Linked DNA regions of Homo sapiens: regions 2, 3, 4, 5, 6 and 7 are each linked to region 1. The links are contacts of gene promoters, found by promoter capture Hi-C in blood cells and fetal thymus (Javierre and others, 2016). All regions are on one chromosome and are shown on one strand. The core of a region is centred on a gene start or on the middle of the fragment in contact, and the rest is flanking DNA. Distances in the headings are between cores, read along the strand shown.

Region 1 (3,849 bases), core at 778-3,277:
TTTTAGCCCATCTTCCAGAAATGTCCAGACTCTACTGTCTTTGTTGTAAAAGAAGCATATTTTATTTTTTATTTATTGTTTCTTCTTAGCGGTTTATTTTTAAAAGACAGGAAAATGATCAGCTTGCATCCTGAATCGGACCACTTACTTATAAACGATAGTTCTTCTTTGAAGCAGACGATGACATTTTAGTTTATATTTAAGGGGAAACACATTCAAATGCTATTTGGACTCAAATTTCTAAGGAAGAAAAGGAAGTGGTAAACTCTGAAGATAGAACCTCAATTCCCTTGCTGAGTGACGCGGTCAATGAGCACCAATCGCCTACGGGAGGCCAGAAAAGGCTGCGTGGTGCTCCCCTCTCAGGGCCTGGCCCTGTCCACCTGGGCCTTGGTGACCCGCAGCCGGGACTCTTGCTGTAAAGTGACGCAGTGCTCTCCCTGGGAGGACAGTGGGTCCAGCAAACCCAACTCAGCCCTCAGGGGGCACTTGAAATTGTAACTACCCCAGGCCTTTGGAAACAACCCTCAACCTTGAAAGGGGAAATTCCCAGTGGGAATTGATGCAAACTGTGGTCAGTTACACAAAAAGGTAGAGTTTACTGTAATCTGGGGGCTATTTTTGGTTGCAGAAAGAATCCCCGGAGTAGAGAAGGAGGCCAGCGAGTCTCAGTTCGCTGCTCGCTCAGAGCCGCCCAGGTGCGAGGGCGTCTTCACCAGAAATCGGTGCTCCCGCGCGCCCCACCCTCCGGGGCCCTGCAGATGCCGGGTCGGGGGCCGCCAGCAGGCCCTTTGGCTCCTGCTGGAGACACTGGAAGACCAGGCGACCAGGACAGCGGGTCGGGCCAGTGCGGTGTGACACGAGGGCTCGAGCGGCTTCGCAGTTTAAACGTGTCCTCATCCTACACCTCCCACGGCTGTTTCGGATTCGGTGCCCTCGTGCCCCTCAGCTTGCCCAGCGGCACGTGGGCCTCAAGCCTGGTCCCCAGCGGCTGCGCCAGCCTAGCTGTGTTCACCTTGGGGCCGCGAGGGCCTCCCACCGGCTGGCAGCTGGTGGACACGCTGTCAAGATCGGGGGAAAAAAAGGAAGGAAGGAGGCTAGGGGGACACAGGGCTGGTGGCCTCCGCAGTCTTTGACCTGCGACGGGCGCGAGCGCACCTCCGCGCCTTTGCGCAGAGACCTTCCCCCAAGATTGGCTCACGACGCCTCCTACCCCGAAGTCAAGGGCTCCCTGTGGCAAATCCTCACACGCCCTCCTCCTCCCCGCCCATCCCCGGCGCCAGGACTGACGGGGAGAGGGCAAGGCCGGGCCAGAGGGGCTGTGGGCCTGGACTGCGGCTGTCGCCCGCGGCCCTGCTCTTTTGGGCAGCCAGACGTGGGGTCAGCGCCCAGTCGCAGCCTCCGGGGGTGAGTCCGCAGATCCCCGCACGTGACACAGGCCAGGCATGGGGACGGGGAGTTCCTCGTCGTCCGTTCCCACTCAGATGCTCCCTGAGGTTCCGGAACACCCCGCCCCCCATCCCAGGATCTGACCAACCCTCAAGCCACGGCCGGCCCCGGTTCCGCGAGACGGGGGACTCTGAGGATTGTCCTCCCTTCCGGGCTGGGACTCCCCCACAGCAGCCGACCGCCCCCAGTTCAGAGTGGCCCGGCCCGCAGCGCTCCCCGGGCACAGGTCCCAGGTGGACGGCTCCGCTCCCGCGCCCGGCTCCTCTGCCCGCCAAGCGCCCCGGGGATTCCCCGGCCTCCAAGCGGCCGCGGCCGGGTGGAGTCAGCCCCGAAGCCCGGGATCCCCCGAAGGGAGAAAACCCGCTCTGCTCCTCTGAAGCGGCGGGAGAAACCGGCCCCACCCAGGTCCGGGGGCCCGACGCCCTCGGCGGAGGCCGGCTCCAGGGGTCCGAGGTTCCCGAAGCTGGAGGCCGGCTCCGCCCCGGCGTCCCCCCGCCGCCACCTCCGCCCCCATCCCGCGGGCCGGCGGAGGGAGGGGCGGGGCCGCTTGCCGCCCGCGACTCGGGTTCGGCTTCTTTAGTGATTGCTTCTGCTTCTCCCGCGCCAGCTGTCCCCAGCTCTGGGGCAACGCTGCCAGGTGCCCAGTCCCCGCGCTCGAGAGAGCGCCTGCCTGGCTCTGAACTCTGGCCAGGAAGGGGCGCGAGGGGAAGGCCCCGGGGGAAGGCGTGTCCCCGCGCCCCGCCCCGCCCCGCCTCGGAAAGCCCCCGCGGTCCCGCCCACCCCAGGGGCTCGCTCAGCCTCCGGAGACTTTTTTCTTTGAGCGCAGCCGCCTGGTGCCGGTTTCCGCCGAGCTGGAGCGCGCGGGCCACGGCTTCTCTGGGGACGCAGAAGCGAGAAGCGGGGACCTCGGCGCGCGCCCCGCGTCCCGCTCTTCCTGCCCGCGCCCCGGCCCCCGGCCCGCGCCCCGGCCGCCGGCATGGTGCTGCTGGCCGGGACCGGGCCGGAGGGCGGCGGGGCGCGCTGCATGACCCCACCACCGCCGTCCCCACCCCGGGGCGCGCAGGTCGAGGAGGACCCCGCTGACTACGAAGAGTTTGAGGACTTCTCGAGTCTGCCAGACACCCGCAGCATCGCCTCGGACGACTCTTTCTACCCTTTCGAGGACGAGGAGGAGCACGGCGTCGAGAGCGCGGAGAGCGTCCCGGAGGGCGTCCCGGAAAGCGTCCCGGAGACGGCGACCCTCCTGCGCGCCGCCTGCGCCAACAACGTGGGGCTGCTGCGGACGCTGGTGCGGCGCGGGGTGAGCGTCGAGGAGGCGCAGGAGACTGACCGCAACGGCAGGGTAAGCGGGCGTCCCCGCAGGATTTGAGCCCCCTCACTGCCCCCACTCCCCTCCTCCCCACCACATCCCCGCGCCTCCCAGCTCCTGGCTCCGGACCGGTCCCTCGGTCACTCAGCCGCCGCCCAGAGCGCCTTTTCCCCGCTGTTTGGGAGCGCGGTGCCCTGGGTGGCTTCCCCGTCTCAGGCTGGGGGACGCGGTGCGGGGAGGGAGCAGTCGAGGTGTCAGCGCGGCAGAAACGCCAGTCCGGCGTCCTCACCGCATCCCCTTCTCGTTTACCGGTCCCCGTGGACCTCCTGACTGAATTCGCGCTGGCTGCCCGTGCTGCAATCCAGGATGGGCTTCTTGCGGCCCGGTCCCCTCCTGACTATTACCTTTCCCCAGGTCCCTGGCAGGGGACCATTCCTCCTCCCCTGCAGGAGACAGCCCCTCCTGCCCAGCGCCCCATTTGGCCCCTGGGCCCCTCGCGCCGCCCTTGTCCTAACACGCTGGGGCGCAGATCGGCTCCTCCAGCCGCAATGATTTGGAAGCAACAGTTTCTTCCCTCGCCGGGACAGCTTGGTCCCCTACCCCACCTCCGCTGAGCTTTGTGGCCCGCGCCGCGACCAGCCAACGTGATCTCTGACTGGTCTGTCCGCAGGTCACCTTCGCGAGCCAATGCCAGCCGGGGCTCCCCAGAGTCAGGGCATAGGGAGAGCCCCAGAGCCGCGGGCATCCACCCGGGTAGGGCAGGAGGCGTGGAGGCAGGCACAGGCTATCCTTTCGTTATGACCAGATTCAGAGAAAACGAGATGTTTAGAAAAGAAAAGAAAAGAAAGGAAAAGAAAAAAAGTTGGCTTAAGAAGACCTGAGAAGGACTGGCTGGTGGAACACCTTCCACCAAGCAAAGCACTTCAAGGGAAAACTGCAGAGTGACCACGGTGGCCAAGTTCCCCGTAGTCTGTGCTCAGTGGGCAAATGGCAGCGTTCTCACCTGATTTTTGTATTGTCCAAGGACCGTGGTATCTGCAGATGCAGCCTAGCACAAATGCACATGCTTTTTGCTCAGGAGCCTGCAGCTG
Region 2 (3,849 bases), core at 612-3,111, 340 kb before region 1:
TGGCCTGCTCCCTGGACTCAGAGAAAAGCCTGACTGTTATTCTCCCATCTCTCTCACAGCCATTGCCATTCCTCTGGCCTCAATCTCATGACCTTAATTCTATGTGTTCAATCTTTCTGTTCCCTAAATTCTCAACATGGAAGCTGACATCTCATCTCTTCCTGCCAGCCACTTTGCTGGCCAGCCTACAGCCTGGCCTGCTTTGGCTCAGAGGCCCAACACTGATCCCATCAGTTGGGGAAGGGCTGGAAAGGGGCAAGGTTTGGTCCTCATAAGGCTGCTCCCTTGGCAATGAAGCAGTGTCACTTAAAAGAGGATAAGACACCACTAGTGACATATTCCCACCAGGGGCTTCAAGAACAGTCCCTCAGTTCTAATTGGCATGGAGTAAGCATCACTGTGTTAGCTCCAGCTAAACCCTCTGGGATCTGACAGACGCCAACTTTCTCTTCTGAGCATCCACACTTCCTGGCTGGATTCTGATACAGTTTACCTTCATCCATCACCTTTGCCAATATTTTGGCTACTTTGTTAGGCAATACCAGAGTGAAAAATTGCCACAGCGCCCTAATGTCTGGGGGGATGCTAGGTTTAGATGGAGTTACGTGACACACTTTTATTGCCAAAGGCTGCTTTAGTGCCTCACAGATCTTCCGCGGAGGTCTGCCGAAAGGATTCAGGTGGCCCTGCTCAGACTGGAAAACTCCTCATCGTTCAGGGTAATTTTAGGACTCCATGCCTGCCTGTGGATGGATCCCTTCTACAACATCCCCACCAAGTGGCTGTCCAGCCTCCGCTCTGCATCTCCAGGCAGAAGGAACTACACCCACAGGCAACGCATTCTAACTTTTAATGACTTTGTTAAGACGGTACTTTGTACTGAGCTTAAATTTCATATCCCTTCAACATCCACCCAATGACCCTACTTTGCCCCCCAAAGCCAATCAGAACAGGTTTACTTCCAGGGGAGCAACTGAGTGTAATAAAGACCTGGTGCTCCTGTGTCTGGCTGTGATTCTGAGCAAGTTAACTACCCTTGATTTAAAAAAAAAAAGGAAGACAGGGCTATGTCCCTGCGGAGGAGAAGGGTATACAGTGCATGGAAACCCCTGGCACACAGTCGTGTCCACTACCTTCCTTTCATCTGCATGGCAGCCCTGCAGATATGTGAAAATATCTGCCTCCAAACATCCTCTCGTCCAGAGTAAACATTCACAGCCTCTTTAATTGTGCCGCCTAGGATATGTTTTCAAGGCATTGACCATCCGGAATGTATTTCTGTTGATCAGTGTGGCTTCTGTTCCTTTTTTCTATTTCTAGTTTTTTATGTCATCCATTCTAAACCATTATTAGTTTATGGACAGGCCATACCAAAGGCATCCCCCATTGTGAACCAGGAAGGGGAGGCTCAGAGGAGACCCCACCCAAGAAGACCCCCCCATGGAGGGATGGTGCCAAGTCTACCCCCAGTTGCCACCCACAGGGACAGTGGAACTTCTGGAGCCTGTTTAGCCAACCAGCTGGACTGTCATGCTAGAGGTATGGTTGGCCTCTTCCCGGCCATCCCACTGGAGAATCCTTTGGAAGTATGGCTCCCTCCACTTCCCATCCTAATGAGGGCTAAGGAGATGTTGACTAGAGCTGGGAGAAGTGTGGATAGTGCCAGTGCTCAGGACTGGGCGTGGCTCTTCTAAGTTACCAGCTCCTATACTTGGTAACCCTATCTGCCAAGAATGGCAGTCTGAAAGTGACCTTGGTTTCCCTAATTCCTTTTCTAATCCTGAGAAATAGTCTCCTCGCCTATAAAGCTCCCTGTGGTATGAGGACATGGCTGAGGCTATGCTGTGGCTTGCCCATACCCCTAAGAACAGGAAGACCTCCTGGGGTGACTGGTGTTCCTCAGGAGCCATCTGATCACCTGGGAAGTCTGGTCCAAATGCACGGCCCTCTTGACTTGGTAGAGTTCCCCCAGACACCACTCCTAGGAACTACTCTGTGAGTGGGGCTCCCTCCCCCGGGAAGTCTCCATCCTTCACATGCTCCAGACGCACCTTCCAGTCCTCTAGTCCTCTCTGGGTGGAGACAGTGGCCTCTCCATGCCTGCACTGCACACTGTCGGCTCCCCTTGCCCCAGGTCAGCCTTACAATCCTCCTTCCTCCTTCAGGATGATGTAGGGTGCAAATAACACAACATTCATGTAAAAGCAGCATAAAACATGGGCTTATTACTTCACATAACAAGACGTCTTGCAGTACGAGGCTCAGGGTCAATGCAGCAGCTCAGCAGCATACCCAAGACCCAGGGTCGTTCCGTCTGTCTGCTCCACCAGCCTCGGTATCTTGGCTTCCATCTTCACTTTTCCCCGCATGGTTACAGAGTGGCTGCTAAAGCTCCAGGCATTACCGTCCTACATAGCATGTCCAAAAACAGGAAGGATGCTTGCTCCTCATGTAACACCTTCTATTAGCAACAAAAGCCTTTCCCAAAGCTCCGAGCAGACTTCCCCTCAAATCTCATTGGCAGGAACCAGGTCACATGCCCACAGCCCACCCTAACACCCATGGCAAAGGGGAATGGAATTGGGTAATTGATAGGGCCTCTCTTCACTGAGCACATTGATCCTGACACCTGAGAAACGGAGGGCTCTGCTGGCAAGACAAAGAGGCGGGGGTAGGAGGCAGGCAGTGTCTGCACACTGCCTTCCCAGCCCCCTAGTGTCCCTGCTCCAGGACAGGCGAGCTGGGTCAGAGGCCTACAGATGTTACTGCACAGCCAGGTGAGAACAGCTCCATGGTCCAGATGACTTCAGGCATCTTAATGAAAGGCTGGTCACACTAAGGCACATAGGGCCCCAAGGGTACTTCTTGTTCTTCTGTTTGTTGACTTAAGCAGACTCCTGAAGTATGCACTGCAATGACTACAGTTTTTCCCAGAATGTGCTCAGCCAGTGATAAGCTATGAAATAAATGCAACAGCACAAGCTCAGAAGACTCCTGGACTTCAGAACACTTATTTCTTCACAGCCAGGTCTTTAACACCTTTGGCCACCAGAGAAAGTACTTTGGGAGGGGAATGGAATCCAGCTGCATGGCTTAAATGTCAAAAATCTTGCATTTCTTCTATTCTGTTGAGCTGTAATGTATGTTGTGCATACCATCTCCCAGCAATGATGAACACAGTGTATCTGGAAGAAAGTCTCATTTCTTAACTCTTTTGAACTTGCTCTCTCCTGCACTTAATGGAGCTAAGCATCTGAGGGAGTCTGAACACCAGAACTAACCGAGGGTCTGAGGAGCCACCTGAGACACCTGGGGAACACAGGGTTGCATTCCTGGGGGTCATGCTTTTGGAGGAAGATGCATTCAGATGGGAGATTGCTTAAGTCATCAGCCCAAGTGTTCATGGAAACCCCCATGTCTGTTTATCACAGGTCCTGTTAGGCTACATCACCCCTAAACTATACTTCTTTTGTTTTCAATCTTATCGAGTTAGCATTGGCCCCTGATTTCAATCTGTACCTGCATTTATAAATCCTATTTTTGACAGCCAACACAGTAGCTCTCATTCCCTGATTCATGTCACGTACAAATTTGATCGATGTCCTTAACCTAATAACTGATAAAAATTTAAATCAGAGAAGCCACACTAACCTCTGCAGGAAAATCCTTACTGTACAGTTTACTTAACAAGCCACAATTTCAAAAAGCAATTAAAGATCCTGCAGACTCCAAATCACAACACTTCTATGAAACAGCCCGTTTGAGGTTGAGAGACAAGCATCATCTAATTCTTGTGAAACTAAATGCTAAGTTATTAATAACTTAATTAAAAACAAAAATGCTAAGTTA
Region 3 (3,849 bases), core at 858-3,357, 320 kb before region 1:
ACCCCAATCACTGATTACAAAGAAATGAATGGTACCTTAAATATCCTTTTGAGATTTGTCCTTTAAAATGCATTTAAATGGGATCTCAAGATTTTGAAATTAATATTGACAAAATTGATTTTAAAATTGATTAACAAGGAGCACAGTACAGGAGGTAAAAGCAGGACTCCTCCAGAGCCAGCCAAAGTTAGGATCCCAGCTCTGCCACCTCACTAATGATGGGACCCTGAATCCCTGGTCCTTGCTGAGCCTGTTTTCTCATCTGCAAAGTGGGGGTCACAGGGATATTGTGAGGATGAAATGAGTGTATGGAGGTAAAGCACTTAGAACAGGGTCGAATGCAGTTATAGGTTTCCTATAACTGCTGTAAGAAATTGTCACAAAATTAGTGGCTTAAAATAACACCATTTATGGCCAGGCGCAGTGGCTCACACCTGTAATCCCAGCACTTTGGGAGGCCACGGCGGGCAGATCACCAGAGGTTGAGAGTTTGAGACCAGCCTGACCAACATGGAGAAACCCCATCTCTACTAAAAACACAAAATTAGCCGGGCGTGGTGGTGCATGCTTGTAGTCCCCAGCTACTAGGGAGGCTGAGGCAGGAGAATCGCTTGAACCCGGGAGGCAGAGCTTGCAGTGAGCCGAGATCACACCATTGCATTCCAGCCTGGGCAACAAGAGTGAAACTCCATGTCAAAAAAAAAAAAAAAGAAAAGAAAATCACCATTTATTATCATACAGTTCTGGAGGTCAGTCTGAAATGAATTGGCAGGCCTGCGTTCCTTCTGGGGGCCCTCGGGCAGGTTTTCTTGTCTCTTCCTGCTTCCAGAGGCTGCCCACATTCCTAGGCTCTTGACCCCACATCACTCCAATCTCTGCTTCTGTCCTGACATCACCTTCTCTCACATGCCTGGCTCCCTCTTAATTTATAGGAACCCTCATGATAACACTGGGCCCACATAAATAATCCAAAATAATCTCCCATCTCAAGACCACTGATTACATCTGTACAGGTGCAGGAATTAGAATGTGGACATTCCTGGAGAGGACATTTTTCTTCCCACCACACCCATGAACTACGGCAATCTATTCTAGTGCAGTACAAATTTGAACCCAAGACACACAGAAAGCTGGCACACAGCAGTGGGTCACCCTCAGGGCAGCCAGCCAATCGCCAGCATCCCCCACTCAGCGCAGCTTTGTTCTTGATTCCTGAAGCCCCTTAAAATGAGTTGTAAAACTGATTTCACAGTGGAAAACGAACTGGGTCGGCGGAGGGGGCGGTGGGAGGAAGAATGCTACTAATGCTAGTGCTAGTATTAATGCTAGTGATGGGGGTAAAGAAAATTAACTTTAAGAAGGTGATGGCATTTGATAGAAAGCAAAAGCTTTAAATAATTTCAGTTATAATTTTGGCATTTTACGGAGGAACTTACAGGCATACCTTGGAAATATTTAGTTCCAGACCACTGCAATAAAGTGAGTATTGCAATAAAGCAAGTTACACAAATATTTTTGGTTTCCCACTGTATATAAAAGTTATGTTTACACTATACTGGAGTCTATTAAGTGTGCAATTGCACTGTTCAAAAAACAATGTATGTACCTTAATTTTAAAATCCTTTATTGCTTGACATTTTGGTCTGATTTATCTTCGAAAAATTTTTTTTAATTTTTAAAAAAGAGTTTATTGCTAAGAAATGCTAATGATCATCTGAGCCTTCAGTGAGTCATAATCTTTTCACTGGTGTAGGATCTGGCCTTGACGTTAATGGTTGCTCAATGATGAGGGTGGTGGTTGCCGAAGGTTGGGGTCGTTGCGGCAATTTTTGAAAATAAGACAACAATGAAGTTTGCTGTATTGATAGACTCTTCCCTTCATGAAAGATTGCTCTGCGGCATGTGATGCTGTTTGATAGCATTTTACCCACAGTGGAACTTCTTCCAAATTTGGAGTCAATTTTCTCAAACTCTGCCACTACTTTATCAACTAAGTTTATAAAATATTCTAAGTTCTTTGTCATCATTTCAACAATGTTTACAGCATCCTCACCAGTAGTAGATTCCATCTCAAGAAACAACCTCCCTTGCTCATCCATAAAAAGCAACTCCTCATCCACTGATATTTTATCATGGGGTTGCAGCAACTCAGTCTCATCTTCAGGCTCCACTTCTAACTCTCTTGCTATTTCCACCACATCTGCAGTTACTTCCTCCACTTAGGTCTCAAAGTCATCCATGAGGATTGAAATCAACTTCTTCCAAACTCCTATTAATGTTGATACTCTGACCTCCTACCATGAATCATGAATGTTATTAATGGCATCTAGAATGGTGAATCCTTTCCTGAAGGTTTTGAATTGACTTTGCCCAGATCCATCAGTGTAATCACTATCTATTGCATCTCTAGCCTTACGAAATGTATTTCTTAAATAACAAGACTTAAAAGTCAAAATTACCCCCTTGATCCTTGGGCTACAAAATGAATGCTGTGTTGACAGGCATGAAAACAACATTCATGTCCTTGTACACCGCCACCAGAGCAATTGAGTAGTAACTAGGTGCATTATCAATGAGCAGTAATATTTTGAAAGGAATCCTTTTTCTGATCAGTAGGTTTCAACAGTGGGCTTAAAATATTCAAAAATCATGCTGTAAAGAAAGGTGCTGTCATCCAGGCTGTGTTGTTCCATTTATACAGCAAGGCAGAGTAGATTTAGCATCATTCCTAAGGACTCTGTGATTTTCAGAATGGCCAGTAAGCATTGGCTTCAACTTAAAGTCACCAGCTGCACTGACCCCTAACAAGAGAGTCAGCTTATTCTTTGAAGCTTTGAAACCAGGCATTGATTTCTCTCTAGCTTCCAATAGAAGGTTGTTTCATCCATATTGAAAATCTGCTGGCCAGGCACAGTGGCTCGCGCCTGTAATCTCAACACTTTGGGAGGCTGAGGTGGGCGGATCACAAGGTCAGGAGTTCAAGACCAGTCTGACCAACATGGTGAAGCCCAGTCTCTACTAAAAATACAAAAATTAGCCAGGCGTGGTGGCACGCCCCTGTAATCCCAGCTACTCGGGAGGCTGAGGCAGGAGAATCATTTGAACCCGGGAGGCAGAGGTTGCAGTGATCAGGCCACTGCACTCTAGCCTGGATGACAGAGCGAGACTCCGTCTCAAAAGAAAAAAAAAAAAGAAAATCTGTTTAGTGCAGCAACCCTCATCAACAATCTTAGCTAGATCTTCTAGATAACTTGCTGCGGCTTCTCCATCAGCACTTGCTGCTTCACCTTGCATTTTCATGCTCTGGAAATGGCTTATCTTTCCTTAAACCTAATGAACCTACCACTGCTAGCTTCAAACTTTTCTTCTGCACTCTCCTCACTTCTCTCAGCCTTCAGAGAACTGAAAAGAGTTAGGGCCTTGCTCTAGATTAGGCTTTGGCTTAAAGATATGATGTGGCTGGTTTGATTTTCTATCCAGACCACTCAAACTTGCTCCATACCAGCAATAAAGCTTTTTCACTTTCTTATCATTTGTGTGTTCACTGGAGTAGCACTTTTAATCTCCTTCAACAACTTTCTCTTTGCATTCACAACCTGGCTAACTGTTTGATGCCAGAGGCTTAATTTTCAGTCTATTTCAGTTTTCCACATGCCTTCTTCACTAAGCTTAATAATTTCTAGCTTTTCATTTAAAATGGTAGAAGTGTGACTCATTCACTTGAACACCTGGAGCCCATTGTAGGGTTATTAATCAGCCTAATTTCAATGTTGTTGTGTCTCAGGAAATAGGAGGGCCCAAGGAGATGGAGAGAGATAGAGGAATGGCCAGTGCAGCAGTAGGAAAACA
Region 4 (3,849 bases), core at 1-2,500, 300 kb before region 1:
TCACTATTTAGAATTTGGAACTGACAGAAAAGTGGACACTTGTCTATTTCCTTCCTTCTCTTTCCTTTGCTTTTGTGTTTGAGTGCACCTGCCTTACACCCAACTGTGCCTCTCCTTTTTTCAAACATTGTAATGAAGAATAAATACCCACTTTCTCTTAATACGATTGTGGTGGTTCTTTTCCCAGATTAAAGAGACTGGTGCTAACCTAGCAATTTGTCAGTGGGGCTTTGATGATGAAGCAAATCACTTACTTCTTCAGAACAACTTGCCTGCGGTTCGCTGGGTAGGAGGACCTGAAATTGAGGTAGGATGTTCCACGTGAAGAGACTTTGAGAAGTAGGGGTTCATCTTATGTGTTGAGGGGTGTTTTGATAGCCCTGCCTTAAATAACTGCATCACACCAAGGCTGGCAGATGAGGGGAGGGTGAGCTGGGAGAGAGGAAAGCGCTGGAATCTTTGTTACTGTTTGGATAACAGTGCTGTGTGTTTCTGGTGTTCCCTGGCATTTTGAAATTCTCTCCCTGTGTTGTCTCACTTGGCCCTGTCGTTGACTTACTAAGGCTGGAAGACCTGGTCTCATCCAAATACTAATGGCAGTCCCAGGCAACGGTGCCTCGGTGGTTCTCACTGCAGCGCAGTGCAAGGAACATGCAGGCTGGGTTCCCAGAGTGAGGGAGGGCTGCACAGATGGGAGATGAGGGTATGAGCTTAGGGGACGGGCGCCGGGTGATAGATCTGGGCAGCACCAAAGCCCCAATCAAGACGTCCAGCTCAAGAGCCTTGTTACCTAGCAAGGTGCTTTGGGTTGAACTGGAGATGTCTCGGTCAAAGTGGGGCAGCAGTTCTAGTGAACAAGTTGGTCTTAGATCAAGTTTTGCTCATTTGTGGCCCAGTTTTGAAAGTTAACTTCACCAGTACTGTCTTCATCCTTCTCCCTGACCACCCCAATTAGCTGATTGCCATCGCAACAGGAGGGCGGATCGTCCCCAGGTTCTCAGAGCTCACAGCCGAGAAGCTGGGCTTTGCTGGTCTTGTACAGGAGATCTCATTTGGGACAACTAAGGATAAAATGCTGGTCATCGAGCAGTGTAAGAACTCCAGAGCTGTAACCATTTTTATTAGAGGAGGAAATAAGATGGTGAGAATTCAACTATTTGTCCTATACTGTTGCTTATTTTGCTTCATGGTCTGGCTTTTTTGCCTGTGTGTATTTAACAGAGACACAGTCACCATAAGAAAAATAATCGTGGTTCTCAAACAATGACGTATCATGGTGTAAAATTACTGAAGACCATGTTAAATTGTTAATTTCACAAGGCACATTTGCCTTTCTGCTGTCCCTTAGAGTATACAATATACACTATGAGATTTTTATATCTTTTTAAATACTTAAACACAGTTTAAATATTCAAGTCCTGGATTTTAGAATGTTTGATACAGTTACATTAGGGGTTGGTTAAACTGCTAGCCCTAGCAACATAAGACTCATTTTAATTACAATATGGTATTATTACCAAGGATGACTTACATCTGTCCCTTAGGTAGAAAAAGGGAACCCAAGTGAATAACCATTGACGATCTCTGTTCTTTGAGAATGAGTTTTTAGCACATTGTGATAAATCTTTGCGAGTTTTGTCAGTTTTTGACTCTTGCTTGACCGTGTATCCTAGAATGAGTCACTGGCCGCCTCTGCCTCTTGAATTTTGTTAACTACATTGCAGGAAGGAAAGCTAGAAAGATAAATATTATCCGATAGTGGAGGCCATCTAAATATTAGAGCACAGCCTCTCTGTCTTTAAAAAGGTGCCAGATACTTGGCTCTAAATTGACTAGATCTTGATCACATTAATTCAGGCAAAGCTGTTTTCCTTAGATCATTGAGGAGGCGAAACGATCCCTTCACGATGCTTTGTGTGTCATCCGGAACCTCATCCGCGATAATCGTGTGGTGTATGGAGGAGGGGCTGCTGAGATATCCTGTGCCCTGGCAGTTAGCCAAGAGGCGGATAAGGTAAGGGATCTGTGCAGACTTAGTGAAAGATTCAGGCCTCGCTGATGGTGGAGACTGTGAAGCTGCGGAACAGCGAGGTGCTGGATGCAAAACAAGCATCGTGAGCTGTGTGTAGGTGACAGGTGTTTTAATCTAAGTTAATTCCCACGTTCCTGTATTCAGATTCTGGTTACCATAACCTAGCATTTCTCAGCTGTTTTCAGCCAGTTCGTCCTTGAAATAATAAATCTATAGTCTTTTAATGTTATTTGAAATTCAAAATTAATATTATAACTTAAAAATAAAGCCATAAGAGCTGCTGTATTTTGAGACATCTCTCACATGTATGTATACCCTCTGCCTGTATTCTGTGGTGACATTATAATATTCTGATAGATACAAAAATAAAGACAGCCTGTTCTTACAATTCTTTGTGAGCTGACTTTTCAAAGTATGTGATACAGTTGTGTTTTCACGGTGCCGCTGGGTTGTTTTGTTTCGCCAAGTGCACTCACCATACTTCTGTACCTTTCCAGTGCCCCACCTTAGAACAGTATGCCATGAGAGCGTTTGCCGACGCACTGGAGGTCATCCCCATGGCCCTCTCTGAAAACAGTGGCATGAATCCCATCCAGACTATGACCGAAGTCCGAGCCAGACAGGTGAAGGAGATGAACCCTGCTCTTGGCATCGACTGTTTGCACAAGGGGACAAATGGTGAGGAGCTGTCACGCCTCTGCGTGGAGGGGGGGGGATGTCTGATTTAAACTGAATAATCATCCACTGTATGTGCTGTGAGATGATGGTGTCTTTTTAAATATGTAAGCCCACTTCAGGTGTTCAAGTCCTGAATTTTAGAATGTTTGATTGCCGTAGGAATTGGTTAGACTACTAGACCTAGCAACATGAGACTCATTGTAATAACAGTAAAGTGCATATGGTACTATCACCAAAGATGACTTAGGTTTTAATCTCTGGTTTTTGGGAAGTAATGCCTTATTGCTGTTTTTACACAGATGTCTGTCAGTGGGCAGCATATATATAACAGCTCTGAAGTGGGCTTTAGTTCACAGTTCACTGTGTGGTTAATCCTGCACACTGTGGAGTGTTTTCTAAATGTAATATATAACCTCTGTAGCCACTTGTGTAGCTCGGCTCCCAAAAAGATATGGTGGCTGTAGCTTGTTGAAACAGTGGTCTCAGGCATTTCTGTACTAAATCAGGCCATGTCTGTAATCCATCCACAGAATGACAGCTTTTGCTTAAAGGTATAGGTACATTCTGCTTTCCATGCTCAAATTCCAAGGGTTTCAATAGTAGCAACTCTTTGTGAGGCAAACATTTAATGTTTCTAACTTGAATGCCTGGTTGTGCTCAAATTTAGCATTTCTAGGGCCGGGCGCAGTGACTCATGTCTGTAATCCCAGCACTTTAGGAGGCCAAGCCGGGTGGATCACCTGAGGTCAGGAGTTTGACACCAGCCTGACCAACATGGTGAAACACCATCTCTACAAAAAATACAAAATTAGCCAGGCCTGGTCAGGGCAGGCACCTGTAATCCCAGCTACTCGGGAGGCTGAGGCAGGAGAATCGCTTGAACCCGGGACGCAGAGGTTCCAGTGAGCTGAGATCGCACTGTTGTATTCCAGCCTGGGTGACACCTGTCTCCAAAAAAAAAATTAGCATTTCTAGATCTTTCTTGGAAATATCTTACATTTCAGCTGTGGTCAGATGGACTTACTTTAGATTTCCTAAGTTAGGGTATGGATACTTTGTGGGATAAGATGTTCCTGAAAAATGTCACCCTGTAGCTAGTCATTGAAGACAGTGCCCTCCCAACAGCTCTCTTTACCAGG
Region 5 (3,849 bases), core at 403-2,902, 300 kb after region 1:
TGTCTTAGCTCCCTGTGGACAAGTCCAGACTACCTGAGGCCATTGACCTTCCTGCTATACCTCTTTTTCTCTTTGAGCATGTAATTCCTTTAAGGATTAAACCTTAGGAGATTTCCAAAATGTCGCTAAGCTCTGCACTCCTAAGTTGTGAGGACAGCCTCTGTAAGTAGGGCATCTAAGGTCATGGAGAGGACCTTTTTGCAGTTAATCTTGACTAAAATGGCAAATAGAATGTGATGTCATCAACCTGTTGACATGAAATTAAGGCTTTCTTCTGTTCTTCAGTCCCATTTTCTCTTTTAGGTGGCTGTCTCTGGTCCTGCATGTCTGATCTCCCGCTAATTCCTGTCCCACCACCTTCTCGTTCCAGTTTGCTGCCCTAGGACCCTCTTGGTTTCTGATTATTATGGCAAGTCCAAGGAGATGTAGAAATTCAAAGTGTGGTTGTTTGAATGAAGGCAGGAGTTGGATTACCCACATTAGAATGAGATCTGAGTGATACCTGCAAAGGAAAGTCTGCAGCTCCTAAGCTGTCCCTTCATTGCTCAGATTCATTGGAACATTTATTCTCTTTGATTCAATATGAAAAAATGATAATTTAGTGCTAACATGATACTCCAAATAACTGGGTACCAACCTGTTAGTTTTATGGAATTCTTCATGAGAGTAACGGTTGTTTGTTTTTGTTTTTTTTTGAGACAGTCTCGCTCTGTTGCCCAGGCGGAGTGCAGTGGCACGATCTCGGCTCACTGCAACCTCCACCACCCAGGTTCAAGTGATTCTTGTGCCGCAGCCTCCTGAGTAGCTGGGATTACAGGCGTGCATCACCATGCCTGGCTGATTTTTGCATTCTTAGTAGAGATTGGGTTTCACCCTGTTGGCCAGGCTGGTCTTGAACTCCTGGCCTCAAGGGATCCCCTACGTTGGCCTCCCAAAGTGCCTGGAATACAGGCCTGAGCCACTACGCCCAGCCATAACTTTTTTTTTTTTTTTTTTTTTTAACCCATAGGTTTTGCTGGTCTCAGGCATACTTATATGTCTTAGTCTGTTCAGGATGCTATAACAAAATATCATAGATGGGGTTGCTTTTAAGCAACAGAACTTTACTTCTTACAGTTTTAGAGGCTGAGAAAGTCCAAGATCAAAGCACTGGCAGGTTCAATGTCTGGCTAGGGCCTGTTTCCTGGTTTGTAGACGGTACCTTCTTTCTGCCTCCCACGTGTTCCACATGGCGGAAGGACTGAGGGATCGCTATCAATCCTCTTTCATAAGGGCATTAATCCCATTCATGAGGGCTCCCAATCACCTCCCAAAGTCCCCACCTTTTAATACCATTACCTTGGGGGTGAAGATTTCAGCATATTAATTTTGGGGGACACAAACATTTGGACCATAGCATTACATCCACCTTTTCTAAATGCATTAAAACTGGTAAGGGATATTAGCATGTCAGGACTCTTTCTTTCCAAAGCCATGTTGTTGTTTTCTTCCACTTTTCGAGGTTGTTGCAAACTGAATTGCTAGTGATTCTTCTCCCGAGCCCATCTCAGCAAAGAAAATAAATTTATCCATAAAACAACAACCCAGGCCACTGGGTCGGCCTCGTAGCAACCACCACGGGGGAAAGGAAGAACCCAGGGCTTCCTAAGGTAGTTCTCGGCATAACCACCAGGGGGCACTGCTAAAGTGCTGTCTCCTGGTCCTGGGCCTCCTAAGTTGGGGATGATGTGGTCTGCTGTGCAATGAGCATCTCGGTCACACCTTGAGTGCAATTAGATTAAAATGTGTCAATTATTGGCTGTGTTCCAGGTGTTTTTCTGTGTTATCTCATTTAATTCCATTATTTGCCTGTGTGGGAGGTATTTCGAATTTCACTTTACAGGTTGGCAACTAAAGTTTTTGCTCATGAGCTATCTCACATCCTAGGTGCTTGTAAGAGGTGAAACCAGTTTTTTGTTTTTGTTTTTGTTTTTGAGACGGAGTTTCGCTCTTTTACCCAGGTTGGAGTGAAGTGGCGTGATCTCGGCTCACTGCGATCTCCACCCCTCGGGGTCAAGTGATTCTCCTGCCTCGGCCTCCCAAGTAGCTGGGATTACAGGTGCCTGCTACCACGCCCAGCTATTTTTTTTTTTTTTTTTTTTTTGAGACGGACTCTTGCTCTGTCACCCAGGCTGGAGTGCAGTGGCGCAATCTTGGCTCACTGCAAGCTCCGCCTCCTGGGTTCACACTACTCTGCCTAAGCCTCCCGAGCAGCTGGGATTACAGGCGCCCGCCACCATGCTAGTTTTTTTTGTATTTTTAGTAGAAACAGGGTTTCACCGTGTTAACCAGGATGGTCTCGATCTCCTGACCTCGTGATCCACCCGCCTCGGCCTCCCAAAGTGCTGGGATTACAGGCGTGAGCCACCGTGCCTGGCCTAATTTTTGTATTTTTAGTAGAGACAGGATTTCGCCATGTTGGCCAGGCTGGTCTTGAACTCCTGACCTCAAGTGATCCACCAGCCTTGACCTCTCAAACTGTTAGGATTACAGGCATGAGCCACTGTGCCCAACTGAAACAAGTTTTTAAAGTCTCTAATTGTCCATCTACAAAGCTCTCAGTCTTAAGAACAAAATCTACAGGAAATTAGGGAAGGAGAGAAGCAGCATCTTGCTCTTTCTAGGCAAGAAGTTCCAGCTGTAAGACTGGATGCTGGGGACGGCTTCATTTCTTTCACTTGAGAAACTGAGGATTTCCACAGTGCAAACCTTGCTTAATGTGTATATCAGTCAGTCAGGAGAGGCTCAGCTGCTGTAACAGATACTCCCCAGAAACTAGGTGGCTTGAAGTAACAAAGGCTCATTCCTCACTCAGACTTCTTGACCACAGTGGCTTTCTAGGGAGTTTCTGCTCACCCTAGGTGTGCAGGTTCCTGGCCAATACAATGATGCTGGTCTGGGAATTTGCCAGTTGCTGTGCATGAGAGAAAAAGAGAAAAATTTAGGAGGGTCTTGAACTGGCAGCCACATGCTCCTGTCCAGAGGTGACGCTCATCACTTCTGTTTGCAATGTGTTGATCAGAACTAGTCACATGGCCCCACTTATGTCCTCGAGGGAGCCAGGAATTCTATCACATTCCCAGGAGCACTAAGGACTACTGATGACCACCACAGAGCCTCTATCAGGGCTGAATAATTACAATTTGGATTTTTTTTTTTTTTAGATGGAGTTTCACTCTTGTTGCCCAGGCTGGAGTGCAATGGTGCCATCTCGGCTCACTGCAACCTCCAACGCCCGGGTTCAAGCGATTCTCCTGCCTTGGCCTCCTGAGTAGCTGGGATTACAGGCACCCACCATCATACCCAGCTAATTTTTTGTGTTTTTAGTAGAGACGGGGTTTCACCATGTAGCCAGGCTGGTCTCCAACTCCTGACCTCAGGTGATCCACCTGCCTCAGCCTCCCAAAGTGGGAGGCCTGATTACAGGCACGAGCCACCGTGCCCAGCCACAATTTGGATATTTTATTAATCATGAGTTCTTTTTTTAACATTCATTTTTATTTTTAAAAACATTGCATTAAGACATTCTTTATTTTGATTTCTGAGTTTCTGGCTCTCCCGTACATTTTGCATCTAAGACCCGTGCTTGCTGCGAACAGAGGGAGGATAAAAAATAACAATTTTGACTGAAATTTTGTTTTCATGAGAGAGCCCTAGAGAAAAGCAGTACTTACAGAGAGGCAAGAATATAGTTGACATCTACATAAATATTGACAGAAAAAGAAAAGGATGAGAAACACACTGTAACAGAAAAGAGAAAACAAAAAGGAGGTCAATTTGAGATTGAGATTGCTGAGGTACATGCTGCTC
Region 6 (3,849 bases), core at 398-2,897, 270 kb after region 1:
TTGAAGAAATAGGCCAGGTGCAGTGGCTCATGCCTGTGATCCCAGCACTTCGGGAGGCCAAGGCAGGCGGATCACCTGAGGTTGGGAGTTCGAGACTAGCCTGACCAACATGGAGAAACCTCATCTCTACTAAAAATACAAAATTAGCCGGGCATGGTGGCACATGCCTGTAATGCCAGTTACTTGGGAGGCTGAGGCAGGAGAATCGCTTGAACCTGGGAGGTGAAGGTTGCAGTGAGCCGAGATCACTCCATTGCACTCCAGCCTGGGCAACAAGGGCGAAACACCATCTCAAAAAAAAAAAAAAAAAAAAATTGAAGAAATAATGTGTAAACTTTGCTTCATATTTATTTCCTCCAAGCCAACTAGTATCTCAAGACTTTTCATACTGGATATAGTTGTCTAAACACAGTATATTATCTTCCAAGTATTCAATTATACTTGATTAATTTGCCTGAAAAGTTTTTACTGTGAATGGCATTTGTGATTAATCTGACAATAATGATTGATATTAGCTTGTCTCTGACAGAGACAATGTTTGCTTCTTCCTTTCCAGGTTTGGAACTATGCTTGGTCGTTCCTAGTACTTGTGGAAAGAGGTAAGTGTTATATGATACCTTAGAAGTGAATATCCAAGTAACCAAGAAATATTCAATGATCATATTGTGCTGACCTGGGAGGAAATCCTAGTTTTTGCTTTTGATAAGAGCCTGTACTTTTCATGGTGGCATGAATTGTTCCAGAAAGACATAATGGTCCTTGCTAAGAAGCTTCTGAAACTTCTGAATTTTAGGGAATACCAACTGTGTGTCAAGTGTACTTAAAATATCTGATATGACACCTTTCTAAAATGAAATCAAGCTTTTATGAGTTGAATTGTGTCCCTGCCAAAAGTATGTTAAAGTCCTAACCCCCAGAACCTTAGAATGTGACCTTATTTGGAGATAGTGTCTTTTCAGATCAAGTTAAAATAAGTCGTTAGGGAGGGCCTTAATCCAGTATGACTGGTTTCTTTATAAAAAGGGGAAATTTAGACACAGAAATCAGGATGGTGTTTCTCTAGGCTAAGGAACACAAAGAGTTCCAGCAAACCACCCAAGACTAAGGGAGAGGCCTAGAACAGATTCTTCCTCACAGCCTCGGAAGGGACCAACCCTGCCAACGCTTTGATCTCGGACTTCTAGCTTCCAGAACTGTGAGCCAATTTCCATTGTTTAAGCCTCGCAGTTGTGGTGCTTTGTTATGGCAGCCCTAGCAAATGAACACCTAGGTCAACTACTTGAGCTCATGTATGCGGATGTGAGGTGTAATAGTTTCTCAGTGGCTGGGTTGCAACTAATATTAGTATACAATTTCCTCTGGGGAATTAAGTAGTGTTCTTTATATTTACTTAAGATGCTCTTTTTCTTATATTCCTACAAAGTAAAATTATTTTATTTTAAAGCGAATCATGTGGATATCCACATACGTAACTAATTAGCTATTCATTGACCATTGAAATATTAGTAATGATGATATCATTCTCCTTGGGGTAGGGAAGCTGAATGTTTTAGTCTGCTCCACATCTCCTTATCTGGGAAACATTCCTGAGCTACTGTCTAGTCCCTACTCTGTCCTTGTGGTATGGTTAAAACTATGTATTCTAGCTGGTCCCAGGGATAGCCAATAAAACTTATCCATGTCTCTGGTCACTGTAATTGGTTCAGCAATGAGAATATGACCCAAGGTAGACCAATCAGAGGGTTTCCCAGGCATTTTGCTGGCATGATCAGGAAAAATGTTATTTTTATCAATAATTAAAAGTCCTAAGGTCAGTGTAGACTTCTCTTTTAGGATGGGATCCTCACTGAAAATGATGGAGCCAAGCTGGGTCAGGAGGAATAGGGTCAGTCAGAATTCTTAATCCATGAATCAAACCCTTCCTGAAATCAGAAACATTCCTTGGACTTTCCACTTATACAAACCAATAACTTTTCTCTTGTGCTTTAAGCCACTTTGAGTTGGGCACTTACAAGGAAAAGTGTTTTAATGCATCTGTGATGTGTAATCTTTACTTATTTTTTGCCCCTTTACATCCTCTGAAAGCCTTGGATTATTCCAGTGTTTGGAGCACAGTACATTAAGAGTTGGTTGAATTTTTTATCCTACATTGTCAGAATAAAATTAATTTCCAAATTAAACAAAATGACACTGTGATGATTTTCCCTGTAATATGCAATGATGTCAAGCACTATTCACTATTGTCACTGTGGCAGGTGAGTTTTCCAGTGATGGCCACATGTGTAGTATGTACATATATCCCCTCATATGCTCTTATTTCAATGCAATTGTCTATCTTCCCACAGAGAAGTCATGTCTGTGTTTCTTCCCTATGAATGTGAGACTTGTGACTGCTCCAATCATGAGAAAATGGTGGAAGTGACAGTACGTGACCAAAGCTTAAAGGGTACAACCTCCCTTTATATGGACCTGGCCCTCTCTCAGATGTTTACCCTTGGAACCACTTGCAGCTCTGTGAGGACAAACAAGGAGAAGTCCACATGAAGAGGAGCTGGGCTCCTAGACTCCACTAGCATCACCTACCAGACAAGTGAGTGAACAAGCCTTCAGATCACTTCTGCCCCCAGTGTTCAAGGTCCTAGATATCGCGGAGCAGAGATGAGTCATGGTCACACCGCGTTATTTCAGTTTCTAAACCCCTGAATATATGAGCATAACAAATAGCTTTACATCACTGTTAGGGTAATTTTTATGCAGCCATCCTGAGATCATTCATTTGTAATGTGTTGTGCTGGCTAGACTGAACTACGTTTCTCAGAATTCCCTTATGTTTTGGTCAGGGCAGGCCTCAGGAGAGAGTCTTATGGGAGATTTGGAAGGTGGAAGTAAAGTGGCAGCTTTTTTGTATTTTTTAAGCTCACATGCATGGTTGCTGGCCCATTGGCTGGCTGGCATTAGGCAGCAACCTGACCGGCAGCCTGTAGCTCTCCTGCACTAGTGTGTGCTTAGCTCCCTGACAAAGGCCTAAACTTCTTCAGGACTCCTGCATCATAAACCTTAGAAGCAATAAAAACTGATATGTTATGAGATCCAGTTTGTCCTCTGGGTACCACCTTGCCCATGCCCCTCTTCTAGTTTATAACCATCTTCTCTTCCTGCTTGCCTGCCTTGTAGACCTCAAGCATCGTCATCAGACTCCAGGACAACAGCTTTGCAGATGCCACTTAACCAGCTCCTGCAACTATGTAAGGTCAAATCCCTGTTTATAGGAGAGAGAGGCAGAGGAACATGGCCAAACAGAAGCTCACTGATTGTCCTCCCTGTAGGAACACCAAATTGAACAACTATCCACACAGAAAGCACCTTTATAAGAACCAAAAAATCAGGTGATTACTGTAAAAGGCACTAAAGAGGGTAGGAAAGGCAGTCTTAAATTGCTGATTCCACCCCTTCCCCATCCTCCAGCAGTGACCTTGTGGCATGGAGAATCTGTGCATTTAGGGTAAGAAGAGTGTAGTGATCATGAGACTGTGTTGGAATACTCAGTGCTTCCCTGTCAGAGAGCAACATCTGGAAGAATTCAACTGGTGCCCATGAAAGAAACATTTAGACCAGCTCAAACCAGAGGGTAATAGCCCAATCTGAATTCAGGGAAGACTCATCACTGTGGGCTAAAGTGCTCTCGGGTCGTAAATAAACTTGAAACACAGTCTAGGCCACAAGGACTGCAATTGCTGGGCAAGTCCTGCTGCTGTGCTGGGCTCAAAGCCAGTGGACCTGGGGGACACGTGAGCCAGTGAGATAGTGAATGGAGTGCTTACATCACCTTTAATCCAATTCCAGCCATCA
Region 7 (3,849 bases), core at 950-3,449, 260 kb before region 1:
CTGGGATTATAGGCACATGCCACCACGCCTGGCTAATTTTTGTATTTTAGTAGAGACTGGGTTTCACCATGTTGGCCAGGCTGGTCTCAAACTCCTGACTTCAGGATACATCCACCTCGGCCTCCCAAAGTGCTAGGATTACAGGCATGAGCCACTGTGCCCAATCTTACAGTTGAGTGTTTGATCTGCAAATTCCAAGGGTATGCTCCTCTCCTGCGTGTACCTTCACAAGGCACTCCTTTACTCCGTATACATTTGCACTTCTTGACTTCTTTTTTGAACCAGTTACAACATCTGCCTATTTCTCTCTTTAATGAATAAAATAAAATATTTATCACTTTTATATCTGTATAAAAGTCACGATTTCACCTTTGGCTGAAAATTATCTTTTAACAATGTAATCAAACATTCCCTTTCTAACACTGGCAGTCAGACAGGTAAGAGAGGTGATAAAGTATGGTGAGGGTGTGGTTTTCCTGATTTCACGCCCTAAGGATTCAAATAACTCACAAGTCAGACTTCCAGGCACAACGCAGTTCTCCAACAGAAATAGAGAAAACAGATTTTGACAAGCAAAAGGGACTGGTGCAGTTGGGATTATAACAAGCAGGGAAGTCTAGGAATACATCTCCAGCCTCCTGGGAGAGCCTGAGCCCGGAGGGGGCAGAGAGGAGGAGGAGGGAGGTCTGGGGGAAGAGAGGTCTGCAAAGTAGGGGAAGGGAAGGCCAGGAGGGAGGGAGGCGCAGCGGGGAGGAGAGGAGAGAAGGGAGGAATACATTTCTGGAAGCTTTAGAAATTTAGAAATAGAAACCACGTGGAAGTGCATCCAGGGCTCAGGGTTACAGAGGACCCCAAGACAACACAGGAAAGTGGGGTCTAATGGGAAAGGCAGGAGGTTTCTCCTTTACTGCTTAAACATTGTAGGAACTTGCATGGCAAGTGATTTTCAATCTTGCAGCAGGGAAGGCAGGGCCAGTACTTATCCTTAGATGATTCTACAAACATCAAACTTCTCCAAATATTTATTTTTCAGCAGCCATGCTTGTATTTTCCAAGTGTCTATGGTCGAGATAGCATGAATTAGGAAGCTACCTGGATGAGCCCACAATGGCCCTCTTAGACATGCCAACGACGCCCCTGCAGAATCTGCTTTTTCTCTGGCTGTTCCTAGGCCTGGATAGGGTTCCCAGGCCTGGACAGGATTCCCCGGATACCGGCGAGGCTCATTACTAACCACTTTATTTTAAATGGGCTTTGAAAACAACAGGTGGCATCTTCCATCAGCAAGTGGACATAAATCTCAGTGCCCAGTGTTTCCAAGGCCTGCCCGACCCACATGGCTGTGGGGTGTAAACTGTCCAGTCGTTCCTGGCACACCTACCCAGCATTTAGGATGTCCCACTCTTAGATCCATAGACCCAGCACCTCTCTTCTTAATACCCACCCTAAAGAAAAGCTGTCGAATGTGGATGCTGATTTAGTTGCAAATATGCTCAGTTTTTTAATAGTTTTATATTAGTAAAAACGCTACAACCAGAATGTCTCACTGCAGGAAGAGAGTTACAAGGAGTATTTAACGGCATGGTGGAAAGGCTCCTCCGTGCTAAATGGCCAAAACGAACGCAAGTTTGCATACGGTGTGATTTCCACTATGTCTTTAAAATGCATGGCGAAACACCTACAGGAAAATACCAAAATGTAAACAGCGGCTGCTTCGGACGCATGGGATCGTGGAGGCTGCTGTTCTGCAAGGACAACGTATCACTTTTATGAAAGTCAGCTTCTGAAAACGGACTATGGGAAGTTCCTTACCCGTGCACGCGGCAAAGACCTTCTTTGCCATAGTCAGAACACACGCGGGAGTTCAGAGGAGCGGGGCCCGGGCTTGTGTGGGCTTGTGTGCCCCGGGGACGCGCACGTACCTTGTCCCGCGGCCTGAGACTGCGCTGCACCGCGCGGAGGCCGAACCCAGAGGAGGCGGCGTGGCGCCGGGCGGGGACGCGAGAGGGACGTGGACGCGGCGACCGAGGACGCGGGGATCCTGCGGGACCAGTGGCTCCAGTCGTAGCCTCCTGGGAGAGCCAAGCCCGGAGGGGGCGGAGAGGTGGAGGAGGGAGGCCTGGGGGAAGAGAAATCTGCAAAGTCGGGGAAGGGAAGGAAGGCCAGGAGGGAGGGAGGCGCAGTGGGGAGGAGACGAGAGAAGGGAGGGAGGGAAGTGTGAGGGGAGGGGAAGAAGTGGGGTGGTCGGAGGGTGGGGTAGGGAGGAAGAGGGAGGGAGAGATGGGAGAGGCTCCAAGATAAAGAAAGGTGCAGGGAGAGGGGGTGGGAGGGAGGGAACCGCAGAGAGGAAGGGAGAAGAGAATCAGGCAGCCTTGAGGGAGGAGGCAGGGAGGCCAGGAGAAGGAAGACAGCCAGCCTTCTGTGAGATTTACGTGCGTGCCTGGCTTCCAAGACAAGTAACTTCTGTTGTAAATACAAATTAAGCTATTTTTTGTTTATTTTATTTTATTTTATTTTATTTTATTTTATTTTATTTTAGAGATAGGGTCTTATTCTGTCACCCAGGCTGGAGTGCAGTGACACAATCATAGATCACTGGAGCCTCGAACTCCTGGCTTCAAGTGATCCTCCCCTTCAGCCTCCCAAAGTGCTGGGATTACAGGTGTGAGCCACCATGCCCAGCCACAATTTTTTTTTTTTTTTTTTTTTTTTTTGAGATGGAGTCTAACCCTGTTGCCGAGGCTGGAGTGCAGTGGCACGATCTCAACCTCAACCTCACTGCAACCTCCACCTCCCGGATTCAAGTGATTCTCCTGCCTCAGCTTCCCCAGTAGCTGGGATTATAGGCACGCGCCACCACGCCCAGCTAATTTTTGTGTTTTCAATAGAGACGGAGTTTTACCGTGTTGGCCAGGCTGGTCTCGAACTCCTGACCTCAAGTGTTCCACCTGCTTCGGCCTCCCAAACTGCCGAGATTACAGGCGTGAGCCGCCGCACCCGGCCCCAGCCCCAAATTAAGCCTTTTTTTAAAAAAGAAATTAATACACGTTTCATACTTGCCTCCTTCGTATTTTCTCTGGTCATCTGCCCAAGGTTATGACAACAGCTTCAACTTGGCTGCAGAAGCACACCCCTGTGGCTCACTCAAACTGGAAACATACAGGAAAAGGGAATTCTAGGAATATAGCTCAGCCTGGACAAATGGGCACATTAAAAAGCCATTGCACCGTGGTGGCCGCACTTCCTGCCATCCCCACTGCAAAGGTGTTGTTATGGACTGAATGTTTGTGTCCCCTCCAAAATTTGTACGTTGAAATCCTAACCACCCCGCCCATGGTGGTATTTGGAGGCGGGGCCTTTGGGAGATGCTTAGGTCATGAGGGTGGAGCCCCCAAGAATGGGATTTGTGCCGTTACAAAAAGAGGCAAGGGAGCTTGCTTCCTCATCTGTATGCCAGGAAGAGGATACTCACCAAGAACCCAATCCTGCTGGCCCATCCCAGACTTCCAACTTCCAGAACTATAAGAAATAAATGTTGTTTAAGCTACCCAAGTCTATCTATGATGTTTTTGTTGTTGTTGTTGCTGTTGCTGTTTTTGAGACAGAGTCTCGCTGTGTCGCCCAGGCTGGAGTGCAGTGGTCCCATCTCGGCTCTCTGCAACCTCCGCCTCTCGGGTTCAAGCAATTCTCCTGCCTCAGCCTCCTGAGTAGCTGAGACTACAGACATGTACCACCATGCCCAGCTACTTTTTGTATTTTTAGTGGAGATGGGGTTTCACCATGTTGGTAAGGATGGTCTCAAACACCTGACTTCAGGTGATTCACTGGCCTCGGCCTCCCAAAGTGCTG

What was found. Contacts are between HindIII fragments. The CHiCAGO score rates a contact against its expected background, and 5 or more counts as called.
Region 2: a contact is called between a fragment that was not itself captured here and the fragment with the promoter of ANKRD33B in region 1, in 1 of 17 cell types (neutrophils). The highest score is 7.3, in neutrophils.
Region 3: a contact is called between a fragment that was not itself captured here and the fragment with the promoter of ANKRD33B in region 1, in 3 of 17 cell types (neutrophils, activated CD4 T cells and total B cells). The highest score is 9.4, in neutrophils.
Region 4: a contact is called between a fragment that was not itself captured here and the fragment with the promoter of ANKRD33B in region 1, in 2 of 17 cell types (neutrophils and naive CD8 T cells). The highest score is 11.5, in neutrophils.
Region 5: a contact is called between a fragment that was not itself captured here and the fragment with the promoter of ANKRD33B in region 1, in 2 of 17 cell types (neutrophils and monocytes). The highest score is 5.5, in neutrophils.
Region 6: a fragment that was not itself captured here is called in contact with the fragment with the promoter of ANKRD33B in region 1 in 1 of 17 cell types (neutrophils); the score reaches 5.6 in neutrophils.
Region 7: a contact is called between the fragment with the promoter of CMBL here and the fragment with the promoter of ANKRD33B in region 1, in 1 of 17 cell types (neutrophils). The highest score is 5.2, in neutrophils.

Annotation. Positions count from the first base shown.
Region 1 is chr5:10,562,043-10,565,891 of GRCh38, forward strand. ANKRD33B (ankyrin repeat domain 33B) reads left to right here and starts at 2,028. Exons shown (of 4, transcript NM_001164440.2): 1 at 2,028-2,791. The coding sequence starts at 2,426. RefSeq lists silencers at 1,612-2,471, 2,812-2,861, 3,832-3,849 and enhancers at 2,091-2,985, 2,986-3,849, 3,002-3,211, 3,532-3,581, 3,602-3,691. The HindIII fragment of the contact is 7,834 bases long and covers 1-3,849 here.
Region 2 is chr5:10,219,677-10,223,525 of GRCh38, forward strand. No RefSeq gene overlaps it. Among named protein-coding and RNA genes, the nearest start is that of ATPSCKMT, 28 kb to the right of the region's middle. The HindIII fragment of the contact is 9,924 bases long and covers 1-3,849 here.
Region 3 is chr5:10,240,302-10,244,150 of GRCh38, forward strand. The region is part of intron 1 of ATPSCKMT (ATP synthase c subunit lysine N-methyltransferase); the gene reads right to left. Among named protein-coding and RNA genes, the nearest start is that of ATPSCKMT, 7.7 kb to the right of the region's middle. The HindIII fragment of the contact is 1,443 bases long and covers 1,387-2,829 here.
Region 4 is chr5:10,260,605-10,264,453 of GRCh38, forward strand. CCT5 (chaperonin containing TCP1 subunit 5) reads left to right here. Exons shown (of 11, transcript NM_012073.5): 7 at 188-307; 8 at 956-1,141; 9 at 1,877-2,014; 10 at 2,530-2,710. Among named protein-coding and RNA genes, the nearest start is that of CCT5, 12 kb to the left of the region's middle. The HindIII fragment of the contact is 8,542 bases long and covers 1-3,849 here.
Region 5 is chr5:10,862,301-10,866,149 of GRCh38, forward strand. No RefSeq gene overlaps it. Among named protein-coding and RNA genes, the nearest start is that of CTD-2154B17.1, 77 kb to the left of the region's middle. The HindIII fragment of the contact is 7,130 bases long and covers 1-3,849 here.
Region 6 is chr5:10,835,577-10,839,425 of GRCh38, forward strand. No RefSeq gene overlaps it. Among named protein-coding and RNA genes, the nearest start is that of CTD-2154B17.1, 50 kb to the left of the region's middle. The HindIII fragment of the contact is 1,577 bases long and covers 860-2,436 here.
Region 7 is chr5:10,305,703-10,309,551 of GRCh38, forward strand. It overlaps CMBL (carboxymethylenebutenolidase homolog), which reads right to left and starts at 2,200. Exons shown (of 6, transcript NM_138809.4): 1 at 1,923-2,200. RefSeq lists an enhancer at 1,478-1,978. The HindIII fragment of the contact is 4,286 bases long and covers 786-3,849 here.